Linked DNA regions of Homo sapiens: region 2 is linked to region 1. The links are contacts of gene promoters, found by promoter capture Hi-C in blood cells and fetal thymus (Javierre and others, 2016). All regions are on one chromosome and are shown on one strand. The core of a region is centred on a gene start or on the middle of the fragment in contact, and the rest is flanking DNA. Distances in the headings are between cores, read along the strand shown.

The links. The method cuts DNA at HindIII sites, captures the fragments that hold promoters and counts their contacts. A CHiCAGO score of 5 or more calls a contact.
Region 2: a contact is called between the fragment with the promoter of CD34 here and the fragment with the promoter of CR1L in region 1, in 13 of 17 cell types (neutrophils, non-activated CD4 T cells, total CD4 T cells and 10 more). The highest score is 23.2, in neutrophils.

The regions. Positions count from the first base shown.
Region 1 is chr1:207,641,907-207,647,789 of GRCh38, reverse strand. CR1L (complement C3b/C4b receptor 1 like) reads right to left here and starts at 2,657. Exons shown (of 12, transcript NM_175710.2): 1 at 2,460-2,657. The coding sequence starts at 2,556. It also overlaps the pseudogene CD46P1. RefSeq lists an enhancer at 2,548-2,627 and a silencer at 2,688-2,857. The HindIII fragment of the contact is 2,525 bases long and covers 2,268-4,792 here.
Region 2 is chr1:207,908,163-207,913,869 of GRCh38, reverse strand. It overlaps CD34 (CD34 molecule), which reads left to right and starts at 2,745. Exons shown (of 8, transcript NM_001025109.2): 1 at 2,745-2,868. The coding sequence starts at 2,790. It overlaps LOC107985253 (a long non-coding RNA gene), which reads right to left and starts at 3,502. Exons shown (of 4, transcript XR_001738424.2): 1 at 3,313-3,502; 2 at 3,032-3,215. The HindIII fragment of the contact is 7,449 bases long and covers 1-5,237 here.

The sequences.
Region 1 (5,883 bases), core at 1,408-3,907:
CAACATAAACAGGGGAGACAGATCCTTTCTGGCCCTCAGCTGCTGCTGCCCTAGCTTTTTAGGTACAACAGAAAGACCATCCTGAGCATAGCTCTTTAAAGAACCTTCCTCTTGGAGGCAGGAGGGACTTTTTCCTAGGCTCTAAGCCCCAGCCAAATAGTATATTTAATTTTCTGATATTTAACAGATGTCTATATGGATACTGAGTTAGGGTTCATACAGAAGCAAACAAATGGGGCTTTTGGAACCACAAATGGGGGAAGACAGAAGATTCCTGCATTCTGATGGGGAGAGACAGAGAACAGAAAAGATCACTTTAAAAGGGTGATTACAAGAGGTACTTGAACTGGGTTGTATGTGTTCAACCTGAGTTGGGGGGTTCCAAGAAGGTCTCTGAAGCGGTAACATTCCAGCTGAGCTTGCAGAAGAAACAGCCCATTTATGCAGCAGGTCATGGGGAGAACGTTCCAGGACTGAGGGAACAGAAAGCACAGATGCCCCAAAGTGGCAGAGTTTTGTCTGTTTGATGAGAAGCAAAGCCTTCCCTCCCCCCAGTCATTTGTTAAATGCTGTCAGAAAATTATACTCCTTTCCTCCAGAACACTTCCCTGGTTAATATATTTGTTACTATTATGTTTTGGTTAATGTCTGCCACTCCCAATACATTTTAGCAAACATCTGTTGATTGCCTACTGTGTTCCCGGCATTAAGCACTTAACAATGAGCAAAAAAAGTCCCTGCTTATCTTCCTGCATGTACGTGTGTGTAAACAAATAGTAAAAAAAGGATAAAGAAAATAGGAATTGTCTGTTATTACCTACTAGTGTAACAGCACCAGACATACAAGACCCATATTTGTTGAATGAATGTTCCTAAGAGAAGAAATGCAACGTACAATCTGTACATGGAATAAGATCCTAAATATAATTTGGACATAGATACACATGAAACACAATAAAGTCAGAAGGAAATATAACAAAATATTAAAAACAGTTGTCCTTTTATTTTGTTCATTTTGCACAATAAGCCTGTATTTAAGCATGTATTTTTTGGCTTTTTTTTTTTTTTTTTTTTTTTTTGAGACAGGGTCTCACACTGTCATCCAGGCTGGAGTGCAGTGGCATGATCACAGCTCACTGCAGTCTTCTCCTCCTGGGCTCAAGCGATCCTCCCACCTCAGCCTCTGGAGTAGTTGGGACCACGGGCATACACCACCATGCCCATCTAATTTTTTTATTTTTTGTAGACATGGGGTTTTGACATGTTGTCCAGGCTGATCTTGAACTCCTGGGCTTAAGCAATCACCCAACTTGGGCCTCCCAAAGTGCTGGGATCACAGGTGTGAGCAACTGGGCCTGGCCTAGCATGCATTTTTAAAAATATTGATTCCATTCAATGAAATACAAAACAGTGGGATAGGCCTTAAGCTTCAGTTTATGAGCTGTAGGGGAAAACAAGATTAACATTATCTGCCTTCCTTTGTTAGGATACTAATTTCTCACTAGGTTTGGCTACCAGTGTTTTTTAGGTTGCTTCACATCTCTCAAATATGACTCAAACTAATGAAAAGAAGGAAAACAATGTCAAAAAGCCACTAGGCAATGGAATCAGATACTGTCTATATTGGTTGGGAACAGGAAGATGACTCGATGGCCCACCCACCCCCCAAAAAAGCAGCCACTTAAAATTCAAGACCAATACGATCTCAGGCAACACGGACACTGTTCACAGAAGGCACTAAAAGCATGGTGCGCCCTTACCACCTCTCTAACCCCAGGCACTGAGAGCCTGCTCTCACTCAACATGCCCTCCCTAGCCGCAGAGTCCGCGCTCGCTCCACTCAAAGCAAACAGTGAGCTGTCTTGCCCACAGTGAACTCCGCACACAGGCCACTTGCGCACAGCACGCTCCCAGCAACACCTGGCCAGGCCCCTGCTCGCCCAGCCCAGCCCAGGCCAGCCCAGCCCATGGGGCACAGCAGACGCACTGCAACCCTTACCGCGGGTACTGTCCAAGCCCTAATGAACACCCTACTCACCAAGGCACCAAGGGAACACAGGGCAAACTCTCACCACGGGCACAGCACGGGCTCTAGCAACAATCCCACGCACCTGTGCACTCCAGAGCAAGCCCTCACCTGGGGCGCCCAGTAAGCCCTCCCCTTGCTGACTGGGCTCAATCCCGAAAACACGATTCACGCTTCTTTTGGGAACGCAGCCAGATCCTGCGTAAATGTCGGCCGCGCACACGATGCCACCAAACAAGCTTCTGCGTGGTTCCCGCATCCCCCGCCACATACCCCCGGGATCTGAGCACGGCACCCCTCGGAGAACCCTGGCCTCGCTCTCTATCCCAAGCAGGCACGACGTGCAGTGAGCTTCGCCCCGCGCCTCCTGCCCGACTGACTGAGCAGAGCTCTAGCCTCGCCGCGGACGCGCGAATCCACCCCGGGGTCCTACCGGAGAAGGAGGACAGCAGCAACACCAGGGCCGCCAGAAGCAACCCAGGAAAGCGCCGGGAAGGAAAGGGACGCTCGAGACGGACGGGAGGCGCCATGAGCGGCGCGGGAGACCCCGTGATTTATCCGGAGGTGAGCAGAGAAACCGAAAGCCAGCCGAGCAGGGAAGTCCCTTCTGAGTCCGGTTAGTGGACACAACAATCCCCAAACTCACAGTTTCCAGGGCCGCATGACAGGTGGGCGTGGCCTGGGCGCGTAGTGTGAAATTGAGTCTTAGCGCCGGGGCGGCTGGGGCCAATCGGCGGGCCGCGGGGCGGGGCCTCGGCGCGCAGGGGCAGCCCGTTGGCCTTCGAGGAGACAGGGCGTGTCCAGAGCCCTGGCAGGGGGTTATCGTGGGCTAGCACCCCTCAGGGTTAGTTTTATCCTGGGGCACTGCAGGCTGTCAGGACTGCCTGGGCCCTTACTTGGTATTTGGCATTAGTCAGGCATTATTGGGAACAATATTTGAGTTTTTCTTGCTTGAATGCCTGCTACTGAATCGTCTCGGCGCCGTCTTCTTTTCACAGTCTCAAAGGTTTGGCTTCTGCACTCCCAGCCCCTAAGATAATTTGCCCTTTGCTCCCCTCCCTGGAGAGGACCCGTCAGAATCTAAATTATTAAGCAACACCAGGCCGTTAGCATATTGAGACTCTATGGGACCCTTGCCCTTGAGCAACTAAATGTTTTATTGAAGACGAAATATACATGCATGAACAATGTAAGGACAAGGGTGTCCTAAGTGCCAAATTCCTGGAAGCAATAAATGCAGGAGGATTGGGATGGGTAGAAATTGTTAGGCGAAGTGGATAAGGGGGAGAACTTTTCTGGTGAAACAATCTCAGGAACAATGTTGGAAAATTAAGAATGAGCAGGATTGATTTGTAGGGTTCTGAGTAAGCCAGTATGACTGGTAAAAGGGGGAAAAAAAAAGGGAACATGACTGGCATTAAAAGAGCAAACAAAAAAAGTTGACATCTCTTCCCCTCAGATTGGCAAAGAATTAAAACGTCAGCCAATGTGAGTGAACATGTTGCAGGGGGACCAGCACTCTGTTTGTAACATAACTTTTCAGAATGTTAAAAGTCTTAAAGTGGAAATGACTTGTGTTAGGCTCTCAGTTCCCAGAGAAATCATCAGAGCTGTGATCAAAGATTTATAATTTTTGTAAAAAATGTAAACCCTAAGTGTCTAGCAAAAGTAATAAGGAGGCAGTTACCTTTGTGTGATGGAATTCTATGCAGCAAGTATTGCAAAAGAATACCAAATGTGAGAAACTATGATATCATTGTAAGTGGAAAAAGCAGAGTCCAAATTGGCATGTGCATTTTGGCAGTCCTTTTATTAAAACAAAAATGCTATATATATATATATATATATACATACACTAATTTGGAACACAACAAAATTAACAATGGTTAAGATTATAGATATTTCACTTTCCTTGTGCTTTTCAGTTTTCTTTTTCTATGTTGACCCTATGTTACATTTAGAATAAGGTAAAGAAAATGTATTTTAAAAATCAAATCTATGTATCAATTGTTGTTTTGTTCATAGAATTATGGGAGTAGAACTTGTATTACACAGGGTTTGTATGAGAGGATAGTGAGGAATTAGATGCTTAGTGTATAAACCTAAAATGGGTCTTATGGAATTATAGAGTTTAAATGTATTTAATACAGTTCTATAACTGAGATGTACTGAAGACTTTCTGGGTTCACCAAACCACGGAATTTCCTCTTCCCAAACATTTTCAAATTTTTGGCATAGAATACAAGACATTGAGTCTGGTGGTATATCAAATAAACATCTTAGTATCTTGGATTATAAAATTCAGACACTCTATGACAGTAATTAAAGGAGGTATAATTAAGGGGATAGTAAATAGGAAACTCAATGAGGAGAAATTATTATTCCTGTTAATGTATGGTGTGAAAGAGCAATATGACAGACATGTTCTGTGGCTCAATGCCAGCACTTATTTGTGAAAGCAGATAGTCTATTTATTTTTCTCCACATCAATAGATATTAAAAATTCTCCATTTATTTTCAGGCTTGGAAGAAAGATACCTTTTTCTCATGAGAAAAATTATTATAAAGAATAGAAGAAAAAATATGGCTAGTGTTTGATTTCCTAGTTTCAGGTGTCAGATTAGATTCAAAGATCGGTATTTTATTGAAACTTTCTTTCAATCAGTAAAATTTCCATCCCTGGGGTTAATCAAGCCATTCTTAATATACTCGAAGACTTTCACATTAAATTTATAAAACTAATTTTTATTTGAGTTAACTGAAGCTTCATTTGAATGGTTCTGAGCCTTGTTTCCTATTTTTTGGGATAAGTTCCATAAGTCAGGGTTAGAGCTTTCTTATAATATCTCCAGTGCCAAAATCTGTAGTAAGTGTACAATGAATAGCTGGTAAATATTGGATGAAATAAATGGTTCTTGTGGTCAAGTGCATTTAACATATCTCTGCCAGTTCTCCTCCAGCATGAATTTATTAAATGTCCAGAAATTTCTGAGAGATTTTGATTTAAATAATTTTAGACCCTAGGAAACAAATCGAGATCGGTCTGTAAAATGGATGAGCTACAACTGTCTGCACAGCAAACTTTCCTAAATCAGGTGTTGCAAGCTTACTTGTGAAGTGGAGCTGTGGTCTATCCCTTAGCCTTGAGGTCATTTTAGTGACTGAGTTCAATGTCGACAATGAACTTCCTGAGGCCTTAACGGGTAGAACTTGAAGCCAAAGCTTTGAATGAAGTTGATTTAGGAAATTAATGTTTCCTCCAATTCCCCCTAAAGATTTTGTCAAACTGCCAAAGAGAAGAAAAGGAGAGAATGAGGATATCTGTGTTTGTGGACCCGGTTTAGAACTATGGGATCTCCTTTAAGGGGCTTATGAAGGGCAGTATGGGTGGAGGCTGGTGTGCAGGGATGTCATTAAACTGTGGCCAACTCTTTTAAAATTTGATGTTAGGGCTGGGCGCGGTGGCTCATGCCTGTAATCCCAGCACTTTGGGAGGCCGAGGTGGGCAGATCACGAGGTCAGGAGATCTAGACCATCCTGGCCAACATGGTGAAACCCCGTCTGTACTAAAATACAAAAAATTAGCTGGGCGTGGTGGCGCACACCTGTAGTCCCAGCTACTCAGGAGGCTGAGGCAGGGGAATTGCTTGAACCTGGGAGGCGGAGGTTGCAGTGAGTCAAGATTGCGCCACTGCACTCCAGCCTGGTGACAGAGCAAGACTTTATCTCAAAAAAAAAAAAAAAAAAAAAAAAGAACCATGTTAGATGGTTCTTTGCCTCCTAATTAGTATACTGTATTTACATTATGCTTTTCAGGAGCAAGTGGAGCAGCATGAATGGGCCTCTATTTACACCTG
Region 2 (5,707 bases), core at 1,496-3,995, 270 kb before region 1:
TCAACTCAACTTGTAAACTGCAATTCAACTCTTTCATAGTTTCATGTAAATATAATAAAGTTTGAATTATAAGAACAAAATGAATATATTTTAAAATTCAGAATTATAACAACCATTTTCCTTACTTTTTTAACATCAGACATATTTGACATAGGATGAGGTCCTCTTTTAGGTTGATTGACATGATGCGTGTGTATTTTGGGGAGGGGTGAGGTAAGGGATGTTTAATAGTAAAAGTGGTTGTGACCTCCAAGGGTCTGTAAAGGGCCTGAGACAGCCTCTGACTCAGTGTATTTCTGTTGTATCCTCCATTTTGTGCGGTGTAGCTAACATCTTCTAGCAACAGCTTATGAAGCAGGAGAGCAGAGAATTGAGGAGCAGCCCAGAAAGGCTAGAACTTTGAAGAGACTACATAGCTCAACTCTACCTGGCCTGTGAGGAAATGTAAGGCTGGGGTCCCTGGGTACCCTTGTGTCCAGTGGCCAGAACGTGTGTTTGGGGGTGGCTTGGGCAAGGGTGTGTGTGCTTGGGGTGATGAGTCTCAGTGACCCTGGAAAATATGAAGAGTGGCCAATCACTGTCTAGCTTTGTAGTTCTGGGGCTATCCATAACCTTTGCAAGCCAGAGAAGAAACAGCTCTGGTCTCTCAGAGGAAGGGATTTGCCAGCCTCCCATATCCCCTACTTCTATTTTTCCTCCCTGAAGCCTGACATCCACTTCGCCCTTGCTCCTTGTACCCAGCAAGTGTTCTTTCTATACCAGGGCTTCTTGAACCTCAGTGTGCATGAGTCATGGAGAATACTTACTCAAAGTACAGATTCTGGCCCTCACCCTTGATTCTGTGTAGACCATGCTTTGAGAAAACTCTGCTCCACAGAATCATTCTCTCTCTCTTTGCTCCCAAAGCTAGTTAAGAAGTTCAGGTACTAAAGAAAGACAAGTTATTTCCCCTGTTTCCCGTGGTCCAGCTATGGGAGACAAATGGTATTTAAAGTAACCAGAAAAAAAAAATCTGGAAATGGAAGTTAAAGTGGACCAAATTAGCTTTCATATCTAGCAGGGATTACAACCCCACATTTGTTCTCAACTGCACACTGGATGCCTGAAGCAGACCGAGCGGTCCCTGGAGCTGAGGAAGTTGAGGGGAGTGGGGGGCCTGGCAGTGTTGGAACTAACTCCTTTTCCCTGTTAATTGGGAGTCCCAAGGACCAATGACTGATTTTAAAATGCATGTTTGCCACTCCTTCTGTCCCCAGGCCCTTGCCATCACTATGTGATCAGTTCTGAATCATCATTTGTACTTTGAAACAGATTCATACCATTCCGTTGTATTCAATCAAATTAGCATATCAGGCCTTTGCTCTTATTGTGTGATGAAAGACTTTGTTCCCTGTTTAAAGGAATGCTAGGCAACAAGACCAGAATAAGGAGATTTTGGGTTTGTTTTTAGACCTGGATCCTTCTCCTGTGCAACCCCAACGCATAGTAGGTTTGAGATGGACTATAAAGGTAAAGCTACTTTTATAATGCTAGAGTGTCTGCGGAGAAATCAGAAAGGACCACAGAGTGCTGGTCTGGCTTCTCTTTTTTCCCTTTAGGCTATGTGGTACAGACATCATGGAAGAGCCTGAACTGAGTATTTATAATTTCATGATTCTGCTCTGGATATCAGAGCAGCCTCTCCCAGGTTATACCTTATCTGATCCTCCCCTGGTGCCATCATCTGCCCAGGCTGGCTTCTCCTTTCTCCCGTCTCTACGTCCCCAAGACTAGGCTGCCTACCCGGCTCAGAGTTTCTTCTATTCAGTACAACCAACACCCAGAGGAACTGGTGAGGAACAGGAAGCTCAAGGATCTATCAAGTGGTGGAGGATGGAGTCACAGAAAGTCCTTTTTCTGATGGGAGAGCAAGGTGAAATCCCTAGTGGCTTAGACCCAGGGCTGGAGAGGGGATAACTGGTGAGAAGGCATCCAGGGAAGTCCTTTTTCTTTAGGATGATGGTGATGGGGAACTAAATGGGGAAATATGGAAGGTCACAGGAAAAGTTAACACAAGTTAGCAAAAAGTTAACATAACACAAAAAGGTCTTGCAGGAAAAAAAAAAGAAAAGAAAAGAAAGAAAAAGTCTCCAAGAATGGTTTGGACAGCCAAAATGAATACTTATAGTCACGTATACCTGCTCACTCCTGACGCTTCACTCACACACAGCACAGGATCTGGTGAGGCTATCACTAAATGTGCCACATTGTGGTTAAGTTTTACCTGATTAACGAAATGCTCACACTTCTAAACTGAGGTCCTTACAGTAGATTCCTTTTGCAAGATTGTTACTGGCTTACAACTTAAAAATAAAGGAAAATCACAAGGAAAGAAAAGTGGGGAAAAAATCGGAGGAAACTTGCCCCTGCCCTGGCCACCGGCAAGGCTGCCACAAAGGGGTTAAAAGTTAAGTGGAAGTGGAGCTTGAAGAAGTGGGATGGGGCCTCTCCAGAAAGCTGAACGAGGCATCTGGAGCCCGAACAAACCTCCACCTTTTTTGGCCTCGACGGCGGCAACCCAGCCTCCCTCCTAACGCCCTCCGCCTTTGGGACCAACCAGGGGAGCTCAAGTTAGTAGCAGCCAAGGAGAGGCGCTGCCTTGCCAAGACTAAAAAGGGAGGGGAGAAGAGAGGAAAAAAGCAAGAATCCCCCACCCCTCTCCCGGGCGGAGGGGGCGGGAAGAGCGCGTCCTGGCCAAGCCGAGTAGTGTCTTCCACTCGGTGCGTCTCTCTAGGAGCCGCGCGGGAAGGATGCTGGTCCGCAGGGGCGCGCGCGCAGGGCCCAGGATGCCGCGGGGCTGGACCGCGCTTTGCTTGCTGAGTTTGCTGCGTGAGTACCGCCCGCGCGCCGCGGCCGCTTGGCTTCGCCGCGGGGAGGGTGGAGGCTTTCTGGGAGGCTGAACAGCAGAGCAGAGTCTCACGGAGGGAAGGGACCCCTGCCCAACCCACGCACTGCCGCCCACAGCTGCTTCCCCCCGGGGCCAGCGCCTCACCTGGGAGCTGACGGGGGTGGGAGGGGAAGGGAAGGCCATCACCCCCGCGAGTGTGCGTTAGCCGAGGTGTGAATCGGTCAGCACGACTGGTTCCAATGGACTGAGATAAAGCGCTTTGGAGATGCCAGGGTCTCTTCTGGTTGCCAGAGGCGCGGAGTGCGAAGTTGCAGCCAGAACCGGGAGACTGGGGAGGAGAGAAGCAGGAAAAGTTTTGTGGCTCTTGGTTGATTCAGAAAGTATAGACACGGAGCGGATTGCTGGGAAGGGGCCGGTGTGCCCACCTTGCACAGGGACTGGGAGAGCCAGAAGTGGACATTAAGGAATTCGAGGGAAGCGAATCAGGGATGAGGCTCCAGGTCCCAGGCCAGGGGTGTTCGGAATGAACAGTCCGTGAAAAGGAAAAACAAAACCAAACAACCAACCAAACAAAAACCTTGCATTTAAGATTGGGAAGCTGAGTTTGAATTCCCACTTCAGCAACCCCACCGCGGAGGAGGTAGAAGTAGACAGAATTTGCTCTGCGCCCAGCCTCGCTCGCCTTACCAAAAACCGTCACCCCTGCACAAATTTCAAAACTTGTCACCTTTTGGAGTTTTCTTCCTCTGCCCCTGCTCCAAGTTCTAAAGCTAGTGGATGGGTTAGAACACTGCCCCCACTCACCTACACATATCCTTACTCTTAAGGTCTTGCTCTCACTTCGGTTAAAAAAAAAATAGGCACCCGGTAAATATTTATACTCGATTACTTTCCTTGGGGAATGACATTCTCCACCTCATCTCTTTGCACTTGGAAGGTTTGAAACTTTTGAAACTTTGTACATTGCTCTCCCTTTTGCTTACAGCACTCTAGGGCTCCCAATTCTGTACTCTCACTACATCCTAAGGGCCACCCACTGTGGCCCTGCAGAGTGACCTGGACTAGACCTCTTTGTTCCCAGTCTCCTCTGTTGTCCATCTTTGGGTCCGCCCAGCTGGGGACAGCTGCCCCTGGGCTGGAGGAAGCTCTGAGAGAAGTTTTGGGTTGCCCTGTTTGGCAGTCCTGGATGTGTGCTTTGGGGCAAGGAAAAGCTATCAATGAGGTTTCAAAATTCTAGAGTGGGTGCTAGACTAGGCCCTCATAACAGGAGTGAGTCGGCCGGGCGCAGTGGCTCACGCTTGCAATCCCAGCACTTTGGGAGGCCGAGGCAGGCAGATCATGAGGTCAAGAGATCGAGACCATCCTGGCCAACATGGTGAAACCCCATCTCTACTAAAATTACAAAAATTAGCTGGGCATGGTGGCACACCCCTATAGTCCCAGCTACTCGGGAGGCTGAGGCAGGAGAATCCCTTGAACCCAGGAGGCGGAGGTTGCAGCGAGCCAAGATCCTGGCACTGCACTCCAGCCTGGGAGACAGAGCGAGACTCCTTCTCAAAACAAACAAACAAACAAAAAACAAAAAACAAAAAAACAGGGGTGAGTTGGCCAGTGGTGCAGATTCCAATCAGATGCTCCATTCTCCTTTGGCTACACAGCTTGTGATGACCTGGTCCTCAGCCGAATGAGGTCCACCCTTTTCTTATTTCCTCAGCTGGTAAGTGCCAGTCTCGCCTTGGCCTGCCGAGGTTGGGGTTGGGGGAGCAACACAACCTTGGCAAAACTTTGGACTGATATGCTGAGAATATCCCAGCTTTTGGTGGGGAGGGATGAGGCACAAGGCCCCATTCCCAGCCTTGCCAGACTACTTGAGCCAATTGTAGTTTTATGCCCTTCCCAAGAGCTTTCTAGGGTTTTTGCTTGGATTTGTTTTGTTTTGTTAATACTAGGAGTCATTTTCAGTCCTGGGATACATTGTGGGATAAATGAGATAACTGAGTGTACCTTGAAATGCTACCATAGGGCCATTGCAGAAATGCTATTATTATTGTAAAATTTAGGGTAGAGGGGATTTCTGTGGTTTGTTTTCTCATCATTTACCCCAACAAAGAGCTTGTTTTGGGAAGTTCTTTTTTTCTGTCCCTTTGAGAAGGTGGCATGTGCATAGGCACTGCAACTAACCAGAAGTGGGCTGTCTTTGTTGGAAGTGGGGGAGATCACAGAGCAGAGTCAGGGTAAGGGGCTCAAGGGCCACCAGGCAGCACTGCCAGAGTGCTGGCTGGAGCAGGAAGCCTTTCAGGTAATTAGGGAACCCCTTTGTCAGGCTCAGGGTATCTATTTCCTCCAAGCTTTCCAAGGCCTGTCCCTATCCTCACTCTAACAACACCCCCAGGCCCTCCCCGTCACATTCCTCTTCTTCCTTTGGGTCCTTCGTGCCTGCTGACCCCACACCCATATCCTGTCCAGGGCTACATGTAAGAGGGGAAAAATAAAAGGGAAAAGAATTTTATCAGCTATTTTCCAGAGGGGAGAGGACTCCACCCTTTGAATCTCTGCCATATGGCGACAGAGGAGGAGCAGGCTTGGGGACCTCTGACTAATTCAGTGGTCCCCAGTGCTCCGCACTTGTAGACCCAACCCAGTTGGCACCACCTTTGCAGATGCATGTCTTCAGCAGCATTTCTGTTCGGCTGATAAAACACACAGGGGCCTGGGGCCTCTTTTTCTTATCCCTTTGGCTCCACCTCCTGGGCCTCCTCATTCCCTTGTCCTCATCTCCTTCCTTCGCAATCTTTGTCTCAAAAAGCTTAGGGCAAGAAG